3 separate regions of the Homo sapiens genome follow, and all the other regions are linked to region 1. Evidence: promoter capture Hi-C in 16 types of primary human blood cells and fetal thymus (Javierre and others, 2016). All regions are on one chromosome and are shown on one strand. Each heading gives the region's core, a stretch centred on a gene start or on the middle of the fragment in contact. The rest is flanking DNA. Distances are from core to core; before and after follow the strand shown. Region 1 holds the start of ZBTB33 (zinc finger and BTB domain containing 33). Region 2 has its middle 22 kb from the start of LAMP2. Region 3 overlaps LAMP2 (lysosomal associated membrane protein 2).

Region 1 (3,432 bases), core at 538-3,037:
TAAGCCACTGAAAGATAAATAGATCCTAAACTTTCAAGATATACTTTGTTCTAATTACTAAGATTTTTTTTTTTACTACTAAGTTTTGGGGAGGATAACTCAGAAAAATGGTTATTAAGTACTCAGTTGCCAGGAAAAATACTAATCTGCCTTAGTTTATTTTACAACAGCATACTTCTATTTGCCATGAAATATCTTTATAGTAAACAATGAAACTTTTCATAATGCTAAGTCCTAATCAAAAATCAATAATGCAATAATTCCCACATAGTTTGTTTTCCCACAATACAAAATCTTGGAGAAGAGCTTAAGGAATTGCATATTTCCATGTGAAATACAGCTATATTATACCACTTTGATGTTTTATTATACCATGTGGCTTTACTTTATTGAGGAGGATGAAGAATAGATTAGGGATAGGTAGATGAGATGATGACATCCATGTCTGATTTCCTGTCAGAGAAAATTAGATATAGTTACATCTGTTTTCAGTCTAATATCCTGATGGACATTTTCAGCAAGATTTTTTAGGAAAGAAGCACAGGAATTCCACTGCAAGGTATTAATAGGTACAAATTTAAGATTTTGGAAATGAATGCAGTATTATCCTATATATATCTTTTTAAAAAGATAATGAAGGTAGTGAATGGCCTTAATTATGGCAGAAAAAAAGTTACTATTTGGTTCCTTAGTTGAATACGATCAATAACCAGCCTAAAAGGGAAACATTTTGCTCTCCAAACACCCATCCTGTTGCTTCATTTATTATGGTACTCAGTTGGAAGGGTATTACCAGAGGATTTTAAAAAATTATGTAACTCACAATGTATTTTTTCGGTCATTAAACAATCACTGAACACATACTATGTGTCAGACACTAAAGCCCTCTGAAGATGAAATGTTATGGAAATAGTAATAATAAAAAATTAAAATAGTAACAATAAAAAATTAAAAATGCAAGTGTTAATATTATTAATCTTTCAAGATACAGGTCAAATGACAGCATTCAATTTGCTATTCTCTTCTCTCTGCTTCTACACCTTGTACAAATATTTTTGTCCATGTTTGTGTACCTACCTACTGAGCTCCCTAAAGAGGTAGAGACCTTTGGGTTATTCATTTTTGTATTCCCGAGAGCCTAACATAGGGTTTTTGCTACAGATCAAGCAGGGGGTCAGTAAATGCTAGTTGGAATGAGGGAATTAACATAGTACTGCACCATTTAGTATTCAATTAAGAAGATAGTTGTCCAAACACTAAATTTCTTTCTTAAAAGTAGTTACTGTAATGTAGTTGCTCTCTTGTTATCCCAGAACTTGAATTACCATAAGAAGTTGTGAATTTCTATTTGATTGTATGTATTTTGATTATATTTCAAGATGGTTTATCATCTAGCAAACAGTCTAATAGAGCAGATTCAAACTTGCAAAATAAATGAAACCTGTATAGTCTCTAAAAGTTTGTATGCCCTAGAAGTTCACATTGAATTTCGATGAAAACGACTCGCTTCCCTTCCATCCAATTGCTTGCGACTGTCTTACCCGATCTTTCCCTTTCCTTTTTTCCCACCCGTTAGCCCTCCGGAAAGAGCCGAACACACAAGAGCTTCCCAGTCTTCCTCCGCCCCCTTGCGGAAAGAACCGAAGGCAGAGCACGGCGCCGAAGTGGAGCCGCCTCAAGCTCGGGCCCTTCCGGACCACCCCGGCCTGCGCTCGGAAGAGGAGGGCGCCTTTGGCTTCAGCGCTTCGCCCCCGCGCTGTGCCCTCTGTCGGCGGCGTGGGGCAGCTGTAGCAGCGTTGGCGGCAGGAGGCGGCGGCCGCGTCGACGTCGACCCAGACTGGAGCGACGTTTAAAGAAGGGGCAGAATCGCTGGGGAGTGCGGCTTCTTCTTGTTGGGGGACTCCCAGCCTTCCGCGCGTCCGGAGGAGGAGAAGCGGCGGCGCCGGGAAGCAGGTGAGGACCCGGCCCCAATCAGGGAGGGGGCGAAGGAGCGCGCTTGCCTTCTCCGTCCCTGGGCCGCGCCTGCGTTTGCATTCGCCTCACTTGAACCAGGAAGCGGCAGAGTCGGAGGCTCAGCTCCTCCGGCTCTTTCTTTGTGTGGGCCGGGGAGCGAAGGAGGGGACGAGCCGCGAGGGCCGCGGCGCGGTCCCCTTCGCCGTTAGGGGCCGAGGGGCTGCCGGTGCCCTGGGTAGGCCCCGGGGCTTGGGGAATCCATCACAGAGACCCACTTGGCTTTTCCCTCGCCCCTCTCGCTGCTTTTTTGTGCCTCTTTTACTCCCCTAGCCCCTACTTTGATTTAGAGCTTTTCTGCCAGGCCCATCCTCCCCTTCCGTCCCCTTCCCGGGGCACAACAATGCCGCCTGCTTCGCTTCATCCCCCCCCCAACACCCCACCCTGCCGTTCGCCACCTTCTACTTTCCCTGGTACCCCATATTCCTCCCGCCCTCACTCTGCTGTTTGTACCTCCGTCTGTATTTGCAAGAAGCTTGCTTTGCACGTGAATTGGGGTTAAAAACCTCGGTTGCAGCTGGCAGGGTCCATATGGGGAAGAGGGAGGTGGAGGAAGGGAGATGAGGTTCAGCTGCCGCAGGGAGCCGCGTGTCGGTTTGTTTCACTCCCTCGCGGATGGCTTTTATCTCTTTCCACCGTCACCAGCTCCTCCGAACTGGCCCTCGGTCAAGGGTTTCACAGTGATGTGGAATGGCTTTTCCACAGTCGAATCGCATATCTTCGGAGTGGGTTCAGACCGACTTGTGCTGTCTCTGGGGCCACCCTGAGTGGGAGGAGGGGGACACATAAACGAAACGAAACCGAGTCCCAGTGTCACCTGGACACGTACATTTGACGCATTCCCATATTGGAAGAACCCGGGAGCAAATGACAAAAATTGCGTGCCGTTTTCAGAAAACCTGTCTTTCCACTTAATATCGACTTCTGTCGAAATGCCCGTATTTCGGAAGCCCTGGTTTTTGGCAAACTGTCCAAAGGTCACCCTTTCTGATGATGAATGCCTTTATGGTAACCTGGAATTCCTTGGTACTGTTAACATGCAACACCTTCTAATAATGTTTTAAATCTTGATTTTTAGACTTTTTGCCTGCTGTTTGTTCTTAAGGTATCATTTTGAAAAATTTAGAAGGTATTTGAGACAGAACTGCCCTCCACCTGTATATAACTTAAGCATTGTGACATCGACACCCTTTTGGTAACTTCAAAGGGAGAGAATATTAATAAAAATATTTCTTCACTAAAAGTACTTGTCAACTAATTGTTAATATATAATATCCATATATTAAAATATATCCATATATAATATGTATGGATATTATATATTTTTAATATATGGGTTTTTTTAAACTCTGGCCTCTTTGTTACTGGAAATATCTTCTGCAAAGTGCAAAAAATGATGTTTTGCTAGTGCTACACAACAAT
Region 2 (3,432 bases), core at 622-3,121, 240 kb after region 1:
ACTATTCTAGGATGTTGGTTAAGACCACGTGGAGTTATTAAATGGGACTCAGTTTAAGAAATAATAGGCTGGGCCTGGCAGCTCACACCTGTAATCTCAGTACTTTGGGAAGCCGAGGTGGGAGGATCACTTGGGCCCAGGATTTCGAGACCATACAATGAGACCCCATCTCTACAAAAAATAAAATAAAAACTAGCCAGGCATGGTAGCATGTGCCTATCTATAGTCCCGGCTACTGGGGAGGCTGAGGTTAGAGGATGGCTTGAGCCTGGGAAGTTGAGGCTGCAGTGAGCCGTGGTTGCACCACTGCATTCAAGCCAGAGTGACAGAGTACGACCTTTTCTCAAACAAACAAACAAACAAAAAGAAATGATAATCTAGTGAGAAGTAGTATAACCAGGATGACTCTACATTCTCATTTTGCCTGGGACAGTCTCAGTTTATATCCATTGTCCCACATCTCATCCAATTTAGCATTTGTCTCACATGTTTTTCATTTTTGAACTAAATATTACTCTCAATAGTTCCACTAAAATAATTTGGTTTGAGTTTAGTAGATCTCCACTTTGAACTTCCAGTTTCTACAGAGTTCTCATTTTGGCTCTCACCTGATTAAATCTGAAAAACAACCACTGATAATCTCTCTTTTCCTTACCCTTTCCAGAAATAACATAACTAACCTCCCCATCAAGGAAAGCAGGCGGAGGAACTCATTGATAAAAGGAAATATGCCCAGACATCAGCAGTTAGGGACTGATAACAACCTCAGATCTCATGTAGTGGTGGAGGAAGTATCTGACACTGTTCAGCTGCCTGCCACTTGGAGTACTGGCCAGTGGTTCTTTGGCCTGTGAGTTCCATGTGTGTTTCAGAAGCCATCAGGTCAGACTTGGAACCAACCCAAATGCCCATCAATGATAGACTGGATAAAGAAAATGTGGCACATATACACCATGGAATACTATGCAGCCATAAACAAGAATAACATCATGTCCTTTGCAGGGACATGGATGAAGCTGGAAGCCATCATCCTCAGCAAACTAACACAGGAACAGAAAACCAAGCACCGCATGTTCTCACTCATAAGTATGAGTTGAACAATGAGAACACATGGACACAGGGAGGGGAACATCACACACCGGGGCCTGTTGAGGGGTTGGGGGGAAAGGGGAGGGAGAGCATTAGGACAAATACCTAATGCATGCGGGACTTAAAACCTAGATGATGGGTTGATAAGTGCAACAAACCACCATGGCACATGTATACCTATGTAACAAACCTGCACGTTCAGCACATGTATCCCAGAACTTAAAGTTAAAAAAAGAAAAGAAAAGAAAAGAAGCCATCAGGTCGCCAGTTAGCAGGGTCAATGGGAAATGTGGGCAATTATAGGTAAGGTGTACCTGTATAGACATAGGAAATAGAGGCTGAGCATACCAGCCACAGAAGATATAGAGAGCAGTCTGAAAATTCTCACAACAGTGGTTGTATAATTTACGCATGGTGTAAATATACAACTATGTATTGATTGATAATGCTTTTTTATTTTGTTATAAACCTTCTTAGCAGTAATGAGCTCAAATAAATGAAAGTACATGTTTACTGAAAATTTAGGTACTGGCGGGCATGGTGGCTCATGCCTGTAATCCCAGCACTTTGGGAAGTTGAAGCTGGAGTTTCGCTTGCACTCAGGAGTTTGAGGCTGCAGTAAGCTATGATTGCACCACTGCACTCCAGCCTGGGCAACAGAGCAAGACTCCATCTCTAAAAAAAAGCAGGTACTAAATTTGGTGATGTACATGTAACTTGCACAAAATGTCTATTGATGTTTACCACTGTGAGGGCCACAGTGATATAACTGACCACACAAAACCCAGAAGGCAATGGTCTGTTGAGGAAGCATCAGCATCTACCTCATAAGGCAGTAGTTATTTTAAGAATGTGCTTAAGGACCACAGGTTTACATATAACTCTATTCAACGTGATTCTCATCTAGATCAAATGACTGTTCTTCTAAATTCATTTTGCTCAATTTTTATTCCAACTTTCCTTGTGCACATACAAAAAGTGAAGTTGTAGCTATTAAGGTGTTGGCTGCATTAGCCAAACAGTTTAATGATGCCGACCTTATATCGGTGTCCTCAGGTGCTTCAAATAGAAGTTAAATTAATAGTGATACATTTATTTCATCCAATGTATGAAATCAAAATAACAATTTTGGAACTGATTTCTGTTGAAGAGAAGACATCTGACAGCATCATAAACGCTGTTGTAATATAAACAAGATAAAATCCTAAGCCCCCTGCCGAATGAACAGACCACTTCTTGGCCAAGAGGACCCCAGAAAAACCTTAAAACTGAGTTCCTGGCCATGATGGGATGATAGGTCAGACACGTCTTGTTATACCCTCTCCCTTATATGGTTTTGACACAACCAACCAACACTAATGTTAAAATAGAAACTGTAAGACTGACACAATACCCTCTTTGTGGCAATAAGATATGAAATTATAAACAGGACCTAAGGCCATGCCAGGCAAGGGTTAAGGAGGAAGGGTTGGGGTAGGAGCTTTATGCTAAAGAGGTTGGCTAAAGTTATATGTACGCAACAGCTTACAGGAGGAGTTATGAATATTCATGAAGGTGGTCTTGACGCATGCATATTGAACAAACATGCATATACGACTATGCTCTAACTGTCTCAAGGTTTTTCTTTTTCTCTAGCAGCTAAACAAGCACTGGTCTTGAGATAATATTAAAACAATTACAACTCATCTAGCTCACAGACCCTGACTAACTGAACCTCTGTTCCCCCAGCCGTAATTACATCTTTAATTGGACAACAGACTGATTTTAGCAACTTTCTCCTGATAAGATCTCCCACCATGGACTGGTTCTGGCCGGTTTACAGAGGCTGTGCACTTGCATGCTTACATGTCCTGAAAAGATCTTCTGTGTATAGGACCTAATTGTAATACATTTAAATGTTAAGTCTCAGCCCAGCGTGGTGGCTCACTCCTGTAATCCCAGCACTTTGGGAGGCCAAGGCGGGCAGATTACTTGAGGTCAGGAGTTCAAGACCAGCCTGGCCAACATGGTGAAACCCTGTTTCTACTAAAAATACAAAACTTAGCCAGGCATGGTGACAGATGTCTGTAATCCCAGCTACTTCGGAGGCTGAGGCAGGAGAATCACTTGAACCCAGGAGGCGGAGGTTGCAGTGAGCTGAGATTGCACCACTGCACTCCAGCCTGGGTGACAGAGCAAGACTCTGTCTCAAAATAAAATAAAATAAAATAAAATAAATGTTAAGTCTCCACCCCAAAGTGAAAATTGGTCATATATGCATGTTTGTTCAATATGCATGCATCAAGACCACCTTCATGAATATTCATAGCTCCTCCTGTAACCTGTTGAATACATATACTTTGC
Region 3 (3,432 bases), core at 69-2,568, 180 kb after region 1:
AATTAATGATGCAAGTAATGGGGGAAGGGCATTCCAGGTATAAGAAATAGCACAGACAAAAATATGGAGAGTAAAAAGACATAGCACTTCAAGGGAAACGCAAGCAGGTTGGCAGAGCTAGAACAATGGATCAAAAGGTATTTTTGGCTGGATAGAAGGCAGAAAAAGTGTGCAGGGACCCAGGTCACAAAGGTACTATATGCTCTTAGGTAGTCTGGCCTTATCCTGATGAAAAAAAAATTCAGCAGCAGGATATTAAGCAGGATTTCATTTCAGAAGTTATGGCAGATGGAGGTAGTAAGGTAGGACATATCTTTATCACTAGAGTCCAGGTAACCAATAATATTGTCCTGAGCTGGATTAATGAAGTGCAGAAGAAAAGCAGAAGGCACAGACTGGAGATCAAATTAGAAGGCAAAATTGACCAAACGGATGTAGGGGGTGTACGAGGAGGAGATAATAGAATGGTTTCCAATTCCACACTTGACTGATTATGTAGATGCTGGTGCCATTCTATAAAAGAGGAAGAATATATGCATTTCAGTTTTTTGTAGTTATATGGAACAGGTGGTAAAAAGGATACGTGGAAGAGAGAGATGCTCAGTTTTAGATATGTGAGTTTAAGATATCTGTGTCCTTAGTTGAGCATGGTAGCTTACGCCTGTAGTCCTAGCTACTTGGGAAGCTGAGATGGGAGAACTGTTTGAGCCCAGGAGTTCAAGACCAGCCTGGGCAGCATATCGAGAACCCATCTCAAAAAAAAAAAAAAAATCACTATGTCCTAACCAAGTGGCTATATGAACCTAAGTGGTAGTTAAAACATGGGCAAGAACATTTCTCAGTAAGGGGAAGTAGAATAAAAAGAGGATCAGAGACAAAAACCCTTGGGAACACCAATACCTGTGGGATAGACAATGGAGTAGGAAAAAGATGTAAAAGGGCAGATAGAAAATGGCGCCAGAGAAGCTAAGGATGGAACGTTTCAATTAAGGTGGAAAGACAGCAAATAATAGTAGAAAGCTTTGAAACATGTCCATTGCCTCTAGCAATATGAAGGGTGGGAGATATGAGTAAAATTGCTGCAGGTTTAAGAGGGAATGGGAAGTGATTGGTTAGGACATCAAGAACTTGGGCAGGGTAACAAATACAATACTCATTTTGAGAAGTTTAGAATGATTAAGGCAGGACAAAAGGGAGGTAATTAGAAGGGGGACATAGGGACAAGAAAGGATAGCTTAAGGTTAGAAGAACTTAAATAGGATGAGGGAAACAGCCATTAGCAATTGACAGAAGATGCTGAATGGTACAAGTTCTCCTACAAGTTAAGAGATTGAATTCCAAAAGCGTAAGACATTAAGAACTCAATACATAACAATCTGGGGTCACTTAGTAATGGGAAAAGAGATATAAATGGGCCTTGATGACATAACTGTTTGCCTCAGTTTAACCAGGAAAAGAAAACCTACTCTGAGACTGGAGAGGAGGAAGGAATGCTACAGATGGATACACTTGCAGGAAAGAAGTTAACTGCTATTTCTATTTCCCATTTCCTGTGTCTTGTTGCCCTAGTTCTCTGCCTAGCTTGCAGTCTACCAGGGACTGATAAATCAGATAACTAAGCTTATTAGAATTGTATCAAAGATAGGACAAATAGGCTGCATGGCAATTCTGATTGTGCTTGCATTCAAGAAATGTGCCAAGCTTTCCCCGCCGCCCCCACTAGCCTCTGGGGCAATAACTAGGAACAAAATGCAACCCTGGAGTTTATAAACTTTTCTGACATTGACTTGGGCTGCCAGTTCAATTATTTGTTTTACTTGCTTCTTGGTTCTGTTAAGAATCCAGAGAGCTGAGGCTGCCAGATGTGACCTGTGAATAGATGGTGTTAAGAATCCCCAGTTAGCACCTCCCCTACAATTTCCCAAATTACCACCCAGCCCATAAACTATTAGGTGACATGTACCATAAAGTATTATGCCGTGGGTTTAATATAACTTGGTTTTTTAAAAATTCATTAGTAGATTAATTTCTTATTCTGGCAACAGACTCATAGTTCTCTCTTTCCCAAATTGGGTATTTGACCTAGTACTGAAACGACTTTCATAAATACTGCCAATAAGGCTTTCATGTAAGACAAATATTCTCAGAGTAGCTCAAAAAGGCAATTCCGCTAATACAAAGATCTTTCTAGATACTGTCATTTACTTAAAATGCTCTCAATTAGTATGTGAAATATTAATTTATAATAACTATTGATTGTATGAATTCAACCTTTAAAAATTATTTAGTTAATGGAAAAAATGTTGGTAAAACAGTAACTTTAATGGGATCACATTCTGAAGAAAAGAAAATCTCATCCTATAAGTCATTTTGATCTGATCTACTTGCCTAATGTATACTTAACGCTGTATTGAAAATGCTTCTGGGGAAAAGAGAAGTGTATTTGCAGAAGAATTTAATAGCCACAGAAGCAATAAAGATTTTTAAAGATTAAAAAGTTCCATGGCCACTAAAATTTCAGTAAGAAGTTTCATGTAGATTAAAAATGCTGTTAATCTTCAATTTTCTGCCAGTTCAGACATTTTTCAAACACAATTTTCAACACAAGAACTGGAAAGCTGAGGTATACATTTACAACAAAAACTAATAAAACTTCTCTTAAAAACCAGTTGAGGCCAGGCACAGCGTTTCATGCCTATAATAACAGCAGTTCAGGAGGTCGAGGTAGGCAGATCACTTGAGGTCAGGAATTCGAGACCAGCCTGGCCAACATGGCAAAACCCCATCTCTACTAAAAAAATAAAAAGGTAGCCAGGTGTGGTGGCACTCGTCTGTAATCCCAGCTACTTGGGAGGCTGAGGCATAAGAATTGCTTGAACCTGGGAGGCGGAGGTTGCAGTGAGCTGAGATCACACCACTATACACACCCAAGCCTGGGCAACAGAGCGAGACTCCATCTCAAACAAAACAAAACAAACAAACAAACGAGTCAAAACTTCTTTTTGGAAGGATCCACATTAAGAAGCACATTCTTAGGTGATATTTTGTTATATACATTTTATATCTATAATCAAACTGTGTTAAGTAAATCACATGCATCTGAAAAGATTCGTGAAGCTACTCAATATCATTCATGAATATCTATACCAGTTTCAAATACAAGAAATGGTGATTATTAACGCAGAAAGTTAGCTACCAGGGTAAAAGAAAAGGAGATGGGTGGAAGATGAGCCCAAGACAATTTAACATTATCTACCTAAATAAACAGATGAAATACTATCATCTTAAAAATGTCCAAGTCTTATAAGAATTCCTCCTGAAAAACTGCAGGAAACTTAAGTGGTACATTTTACACTGAACTTATAGTATGTTCTTGATACGTAACAAGTAGCTTATCAGATTCCTTCTAAAATACTAAGATGTATGAAATAC

Evidence for each region. Contacts are between HindIII fragments. The CHiCAGO score rates a contact against its expected background, and 5 or more counts as called.
Region 2: a fragment that was not itself captured here is called in contact with the fragment with the promoter of ZBTB33 in region 1 in 1 of 17 cell types (non-activated CD4 T cells); the score reaches 5.4 in non-activated CD4 T cells.
Region 3: a fragment that was not itself captured here is called in contact with the fragment with the promoter of ZBTB33 in region 1 in 1 of 17 cell types (M1 macrophages); the score reaches 6.6 in M1 macrophages.

The regions. Positions count from the first base shown.
Region 1 is chrX:120,249,025-120,252,456 of GRCh38, forward strand. ZBTB33 (zinc finger and BTB domain containing 33) reads left to right here and starts at 1,788. Exons shown (of 3, transcript NM_001184742.2): 1 at 1,788-1,953. It also overlaps a transcript of TMEM255A not described here. RefSeq lists an enhancer at 1,495-2,333. The HindIII fragment of the contact is 5,064 bases long and covers 1-2,483 here.
Region 2 is chrX:120,489,341-120,492,772 of GRCh38, forward strand. No RefSeq gene overlaps it. Among named protein-coding and RNA genes, the nearest start is that of LAMP2, 22 kb to the left of the region's middle. The HindIII fragment of the contact is 6,082 bases long and covers 1-3,432 here.
Region 3 is chrX:120,432,174-120,435,605 of GRCh38, forward strand. All of the region lies in intron 8 of LAMP2 (lysosomal associated membrane protein 2), which reads right to left. Among named protein-coding and RNA genes, the nearest start is that of LAMP2, 35 kb to the right of the region's middle. The HindIII fragment of the contact is 600 bases long and covers 1,019-1,618 here.